2 separate regions of the Homo sapiens genome follow, and region 2 is linked to region 1. The links are contacts of gene promoters, found by promoter capture Hi-C in blood cells and fetal thymus (Javierre and others, 2016). All regions are on one chromosome and are shown on one strand. The core of a region is centred on a gene start or on the middle of the fragment in contact, and the rest is flanking DNA. Distances in the headings are between cores, read along the strand shown. Region 1 holds the start of RGS16 (regulator of G protein signaling 16). Region 2 overlaps CACNA1E (calcium voltage-gated channel subunit alpha1 E).

Region 1 (2,881 bases), core at 137-2,636:
CTGTGTGCCCTCATCCGTGGATGGACTTGGAGCCCTGGAGCCACCTACCCACTCACCCATGAGCCAAGTAGTCATAACAGACCAGCAACAAGTCCCACTAAAATCTCTAGGGAGGTGTTGCCAAGGTCCACTTAGCGTGTCCTGGCTTCTCCCTGTATTTCCCTCCTCATGACTCCCTTCCCACTCCCTTCCCTCTCGGAGCCCTGAGCTGGTCAGCAACACTTACTTCTCTTTGCTGTGTTTACTGCCCCACTCGAACTTGCCAGTACTCCCAGTATCGCAGCCCAGCTCTGATTTGTGAAGAAAGATCCCCAGACGTGTCTTGAACTCTTTGGCTCTGAAAAACAAATCAGGAACATGAAAGCATTCTCTCATTTGCTCAGCCAGTGTGGAGAGGTTTATGGGTCCCAGAAGAGCTCTGGGTGGTGCCACCCAAACTTTAGCCTCAAGAGTTCCTGGAAACTCTTGGCTGTCCCCAGGCCAAGAGTGCTTCTCTTATCAGCATCATCAACCCCAAAGCAACAAAAGCAATGTTTGAGCTATGCTGTGGTAGGTCTTACACTTTCTGGGTAATACACACGCTGCATATATGGGCTTTTCCCTAAAGTCACACTGATCTCTCTTCGTGCCTGTTGATTCAGAAAAGAACTCAGCATTCTTTTCAGAAGTATTTCTGAACTGTGTGGGAAACTGATTCCTGCCTTCATCTTTACTTTTTCCTTCCCAGCCAGTAAGGATTGGAAGCTGTTGAGTAGCTCTCTGGAATATGGACACACCCTCAACAGTGGGAGCCCCCACCCCCACACACCCCACCAAAAAAAAAAAAATCTCCCTGTCTTCCAGGGGCAGAGGAGGCAATGCCCCTAGCTCTGGTCTGAGGAATGAAAAACAAATGCTTAAGAAATGGGCAGGCTCAGTGCTGCCTGGAAATGTCAACGTGGCCTTCCCGCAGCCGGGTCTTCAGCAGGTCACCTGAGCACGACTGCAGTTTGTCAGAGGATGGGGATGGCAGCAAGCCGCGGGCCCTTGCTTCCCTTCCCCTTGCTTTCTCCCTGCTCCTGGAATCTGAGCACGTGGCATCAAGTGCGCTTCTACCTCTCTACTCAAGCCTCTAGCGCCCCATCCCCGCGCCCACCCAGGTCCCCAGGCCTGCCGCTCCACTCCCTAAGAGTTGGTGGGACTTCCCCCAAGCAGTTGGACAACCTCCCCTTACCTCTCCAGGCAGGTGGTGGGGAAGGCGGCCAGGGTGCGGCACATGGCTGCGGGCGCAGGGCAGCACGTAGTAGGCAGGATGGTGGCAGGCTCCAGGAGGCTCCGCGTGCGCCAGGAAGCAAAGGCGCGGTAGCAGGTGCTAGTCAACTGCGGTTGGGTTTAGCAGCCTGCAAGCGCCCAGACTGAGCGGCCGCTGCTTTAAATCCCCTCGGAGGAGCGGGGCGGGGCTGGGCACTGCTGACCAATCGGAGGGTGGGGCTGGGCGCTGAGAAGGCGGAGGCGGGGCCCGCAGCCAGACTGGGCCGGGTGCAACTTTCGCGGCAGCTGGAGCACGCGGAGCTGCACCCTCCGCCCAGAGGACGCCGCGTGTGGAAGGAAAAGCGGCAAGAGAATTGGCACGGGGATGAGACGTGCACACCCAGTTTCCTAGGGAAAAGTACCTGCCGACCTCTAGTAACAGCAGGAAAGTCACGCAGCGGTGTCGTGTTGAGAGAGTTTGCACGGGGGTGGTGGGTCTGGGAGGCACACAGGGCTTTCTTTGATCGCAGGCAAGTCTGAGCCTGCTGGGTCCTGAGGACAGGCGCACAGGGTGCAAACCTGGGCAAAACAGCATCTGATTATACTGATAAGTACCCTTTACGAGGCTCTTACCATGATGGACACGGGGCTAAGTAAGCTCTTCATCATCATCTCCATTTTATAGATGAAGAAATCGAGAATCAGAAAGCTAAATAAACTTGTCCAAGATCACAGTTGGAGATGACAGAAAAGTGGAATAGGGATGAGTAGTTTATTGAACACCTACTATGTGCTAGGCACATAAGTAAGACTTGCTCAAAGTCTTAGTTATTAAATAACTTGCTCAAAGATGTGCAGCTAGTAAGTGTTGGCTCCAAAATTCAAATGTGAATTTGCCATTCTTTTTCCATTGCACACACACACACACACACACACACACACACCACACACACACACAAAGGTTAGTACCCGGTCACGGCTATACCTGTGGACGATCCTGGGTTTAAGCAGTTAATACCTTATTGTCTCCATCTCTGACATAAAGGTAATAAATGCCCTTCCTCTCACCTCATCTTCCCATAAAGGCATTGGGATTGCTATTAAGAGGCTGTATGTGAGGTTAAAAGTACAGGGTCTAGAGTTAGATTTTCAGGTTTCAAGTCATGGCTCTGCCAGGTGACCTGCTGAAGACCCAGCTGCAGGAAGGCCACGTTCACTGTTAACTGGCTACTGATGGGAGACGAGGCAAACTGCTTAACCTTTCTATGCCTCCATTTCCTTGTCTCTACGAAGAGAACAACTTATTTCATAAGGTGGTTGTGAGAACTAAATAAATTAATTCTTAGTTTGAGTTCCTAGGAACTAGACTCGGGTAGACACTTGCATGCAGGAGGTTTACTGGGGAGAGTTATCAGAATTAAGAGGGAGTAAAGAAAGCAGGTCTGGGCAGAGGGAGGAGTTGAAGGCCATGCCATTTCAACAGAGACCCCAGCTGGTTCCAAGGAATGCCCGGAAGCTCAGCTGGCCCTTTGGAACTGTCCACTGAAGCAAGAGGACAAGGCCCTGGTAACCCCATAAAGACCATTCATTGCATACAGCTGCCCAAGAAGACAGCCTAATCTTAAGGCAGTGCCCTTTGTCAAGAGCAATT
Region 2 (2,881 bases), core at 179-2,678, 1.1 Mb before region 1:
TAGTGGAGCCCTGTTGGAAAATATAAAATACACCATGTACAATGTAATTGACTAATATATTCCCTCTGGTGGTGACCACGTGGAAACATTGGGCTTCCGTGGGAAACGCACCTAAATTCCTAGTCTCACCTTCCTTTCCTTTCTAAACAAATAACTTCCCAAGTATCTTGCTTTGTCTTATTGGGAGTCAGTCTGGGTAGTGGTTGCCCATAAAGCTTTGGAGCTAGGCTGCCTGGGTTGAAATCCTAGTTCCTTCACCAGCTTTCTGACCTTGAAAATTACTTCATTACTCTGTGACTCAGTCTTCTTACCTGTTAAATGAGGATAATAATAATAATACTGGGAGAATTAAATGACTTAATATATATCACATGCCTAAAACATTATCTAATTACCCAGTAATCACTAGTTGTTATTATTAATGGCATCTTTCAGAAATTTCAGCGTGCCTGAAGTGGGGAGGGGTCTTAGTTCAGGTGAAGTCCTCTAGATTCTTGCCTCTCAAAGAGAGCAAGGAGCTGCATCCACATCACCTGGGAGCTTGCTAAAAATTCAGAATCCTGGGCCCCACTTCAATCCTGCTGAATCAGAATCTGCATTGTAATGAGATCCCTGTGTGATTAATATGCTCATTAAAGTTTAGGAAGTACTTCTTTGCTCTTTGTAAGTGCCAGATTTTTTTTTTTTTTTTTAAGAAAGGAAGGTTGTTCAGTTGTTCAGAAAACATGTCAAGACCTGCTTTCATATTGACATTTGCACATTTAGCATGCTTGAGGATTTTGTTTGTGTTACAACACGTTTTGAGACTTACACTTTCATTGGCTGCAGAAAGTCACTGTAGGACGAGGGGGATAATGTACACTTCTATGTGCCGCATTAGTGGTCTCATCATGCTGTGCATTACTGGTCTTTAATCATGTTTGTCTGAAAAGATTGGTTAAGTAAAAGGAATGGTTTAATTTATGCTTCTAGGATCACCCCGACTTGGAGGGGGAGGGTAATCTTATCCAGTTATTAATAGGGGAGGTCTAGTTCTTATGGGAAGAAATGCTCAAGATAACCCAGATTTGGCATGAAAGATGGTGGCAAGTCAACAGCCTACTCTGAATGTGTTTCATTTTTCTTGGAAGCTACATCTGCATAGGGAGATAATTTTATTTTCTTATGGCACTTTCCTCTGCAGTGGATACCATACTCTTTTTAAAAATGCTAATGTGATTTAAAATGTGATGTTACATTCTATACGATTCCTCGTTTTCATTTTCTTTTTTGCTCATCTAATAGATCTTCTCTGGCAGTTGGCTGTTCTGAGTGCCCTCCCATGTTCACCGTGCCTCATGCTTACCAGCTCTCACTGTTTCATGCCCAGGGCCAGTTACCCTGTGGGCCATACAGCATCTCTCATGTGGTTTGCAGGATGCCCCACACTTGTTTGAACTTTTCCAGGTCACGGGTGTGAAGGCAAGAAGTAGTGTGTCTGGCTTGGAGACTCTATGCCAGAGTTGGGCAATAGGATATTCCCCCCACACCTCCATCGCCTTGGTTGTCTCAGCAGGGGAGAACATGCTTCGTGTGGAAATGAATATGGCTTACAGTAGGAAGGTCAAATATGTTTGCAGCCCTGAGATAATGAAGCTCATCACAATGAACCTGTGGACATTAATCCATGATTTCTTATTGTAGAGAATTTCACTGTATCCCCAAAGCACTCTGGCTATGGATCAGAGGTTGTATGCTTTACTACTGTGAATCTCCCATTGTAAAATGTCCGTTTATTTTGGAGGATTTTGGTGAGGGTTACCAAAAGTTTTAGTTCTTAAATCTCCCATTTTGGTGTCTTCTTTTCTTCTGCTTTTGTTGCCTATAAATGTATAGCACATTGCAGGATAGTAGACTGAGGTCCCGGTAAGAATTTCAGGTTTGATGTAACTAGTGAATCATGAGTCAAGATGCCTTGATTAGGGAAGATGATGGCAGCTAACAAGGATGAAGTCTGTAATTATATCCTATGATCAGATAATGCAGAGGGGTTCATATCTTCTGTGTACCTGTGCGTGGATGCAGATGGTGAAACAGATAGTGACTGCAGCTGGTACTGGAGCTGTAGGAGAAAGTTCTTCATTTTCTGAGCATCCCAGGACAATCTCTGAATTGCCTGTTGGCTTTGCTTTTGATATGAAGTGTGGGTAATGTTTCATGTGGAAACCAGGCCATGACTTGTTGTGGGGACCATTTATAATTGGGATGAAGCCTGAAAAATGAGTTGGAGTGAAGGAATTTGACAGAAATGAAATGACTTGAGGATAGAGACAAAAATATCCTCAATGTGATAGTTTTGTCTGTTGGTTTGCATGTCATTATTTCTCCACTTCCCTCCACTTGCTTTTTCTGCAATAGGCGCAGTGCATGCTATGAATTAAAGGAGGAAGAGGAAAGTAATGAGAACAGGCCTGCTTTTTTTTTCTTCTGAAACATCCAGACTCTGAAATTATTAGCTCCATCCAAAATTACTTATCTCTTTATAGCACTGCTGTACAAAATGTAGGTGTTTTTCCCCCTCAAATTCTGCTGCTTTCCCCCTTCTTTATAGGAACATCTGGTTTCTTTCAATCTTCATATTCTTAGTGAAAATAAAACTGAGTGAAGCTTTGCTAAGCTCTCAGAACTCTTGCAAACCCTTGACTCCATGTGTTTGATGAGCAGGTCAGCCACCTCCCTTACGTCATGCACAGGGCTGCCTGGAAAGCTACAGCTCACCAAACACCAAAGCCCAGATGTGCAATCCAGTCCATCAATGGTGACTCTGCTGATCTTATTTTGCTTATCACTGACCACAAAGACATAAAAGAGGAAACCTAAATGCAACTCTAATTAATATCCA

The links. The method cuts DNA at HindIII sites, captures the fragments that hold promoters and counts their contacts. A CHiCAGO score of 5 or more calls a contact.
Region 2: a fragment that was not itself captured here is called in contact with the fragment with the promoter of RGS16 in region 1 in 1 of 17 cell types (neutrophils); the score reaches 6.3 in neutrophils.

The regions. Positions count from the first base shown.
Region 1 is chr1:182,603,003-182,605,883 of GRCh38, forward strand. RGS16 (regulator of G protein signaling 16) reads right to left here and starts at 1,387. Exons shown (of 5, transcript NM_002928.4): 1 at 1,214-1,387; 2 at 227-337. The coding sequence starts at 1,257. RefSeq lists enhancers at 952-1,011, 1,102-1,151, 1,622-1,701. The HindIII fragment of the contact is 22,726 bases long and covers 1-2,881 here.
Region 2 is chr1:181,486,349-181,489,229 of GRCh38, forward strand. The region is part of intron 1 of CACNA1E (calcium voltage-gated channel subunit alpha1 E); the gene reads left to right. Among named protein-coding and RNA genes, the nearest start is that of CACNA1E, 4.3 kb to the left of the region's middle. The HindIII fragment of the contact is 2,431 bases long and covers 214-2,644 here.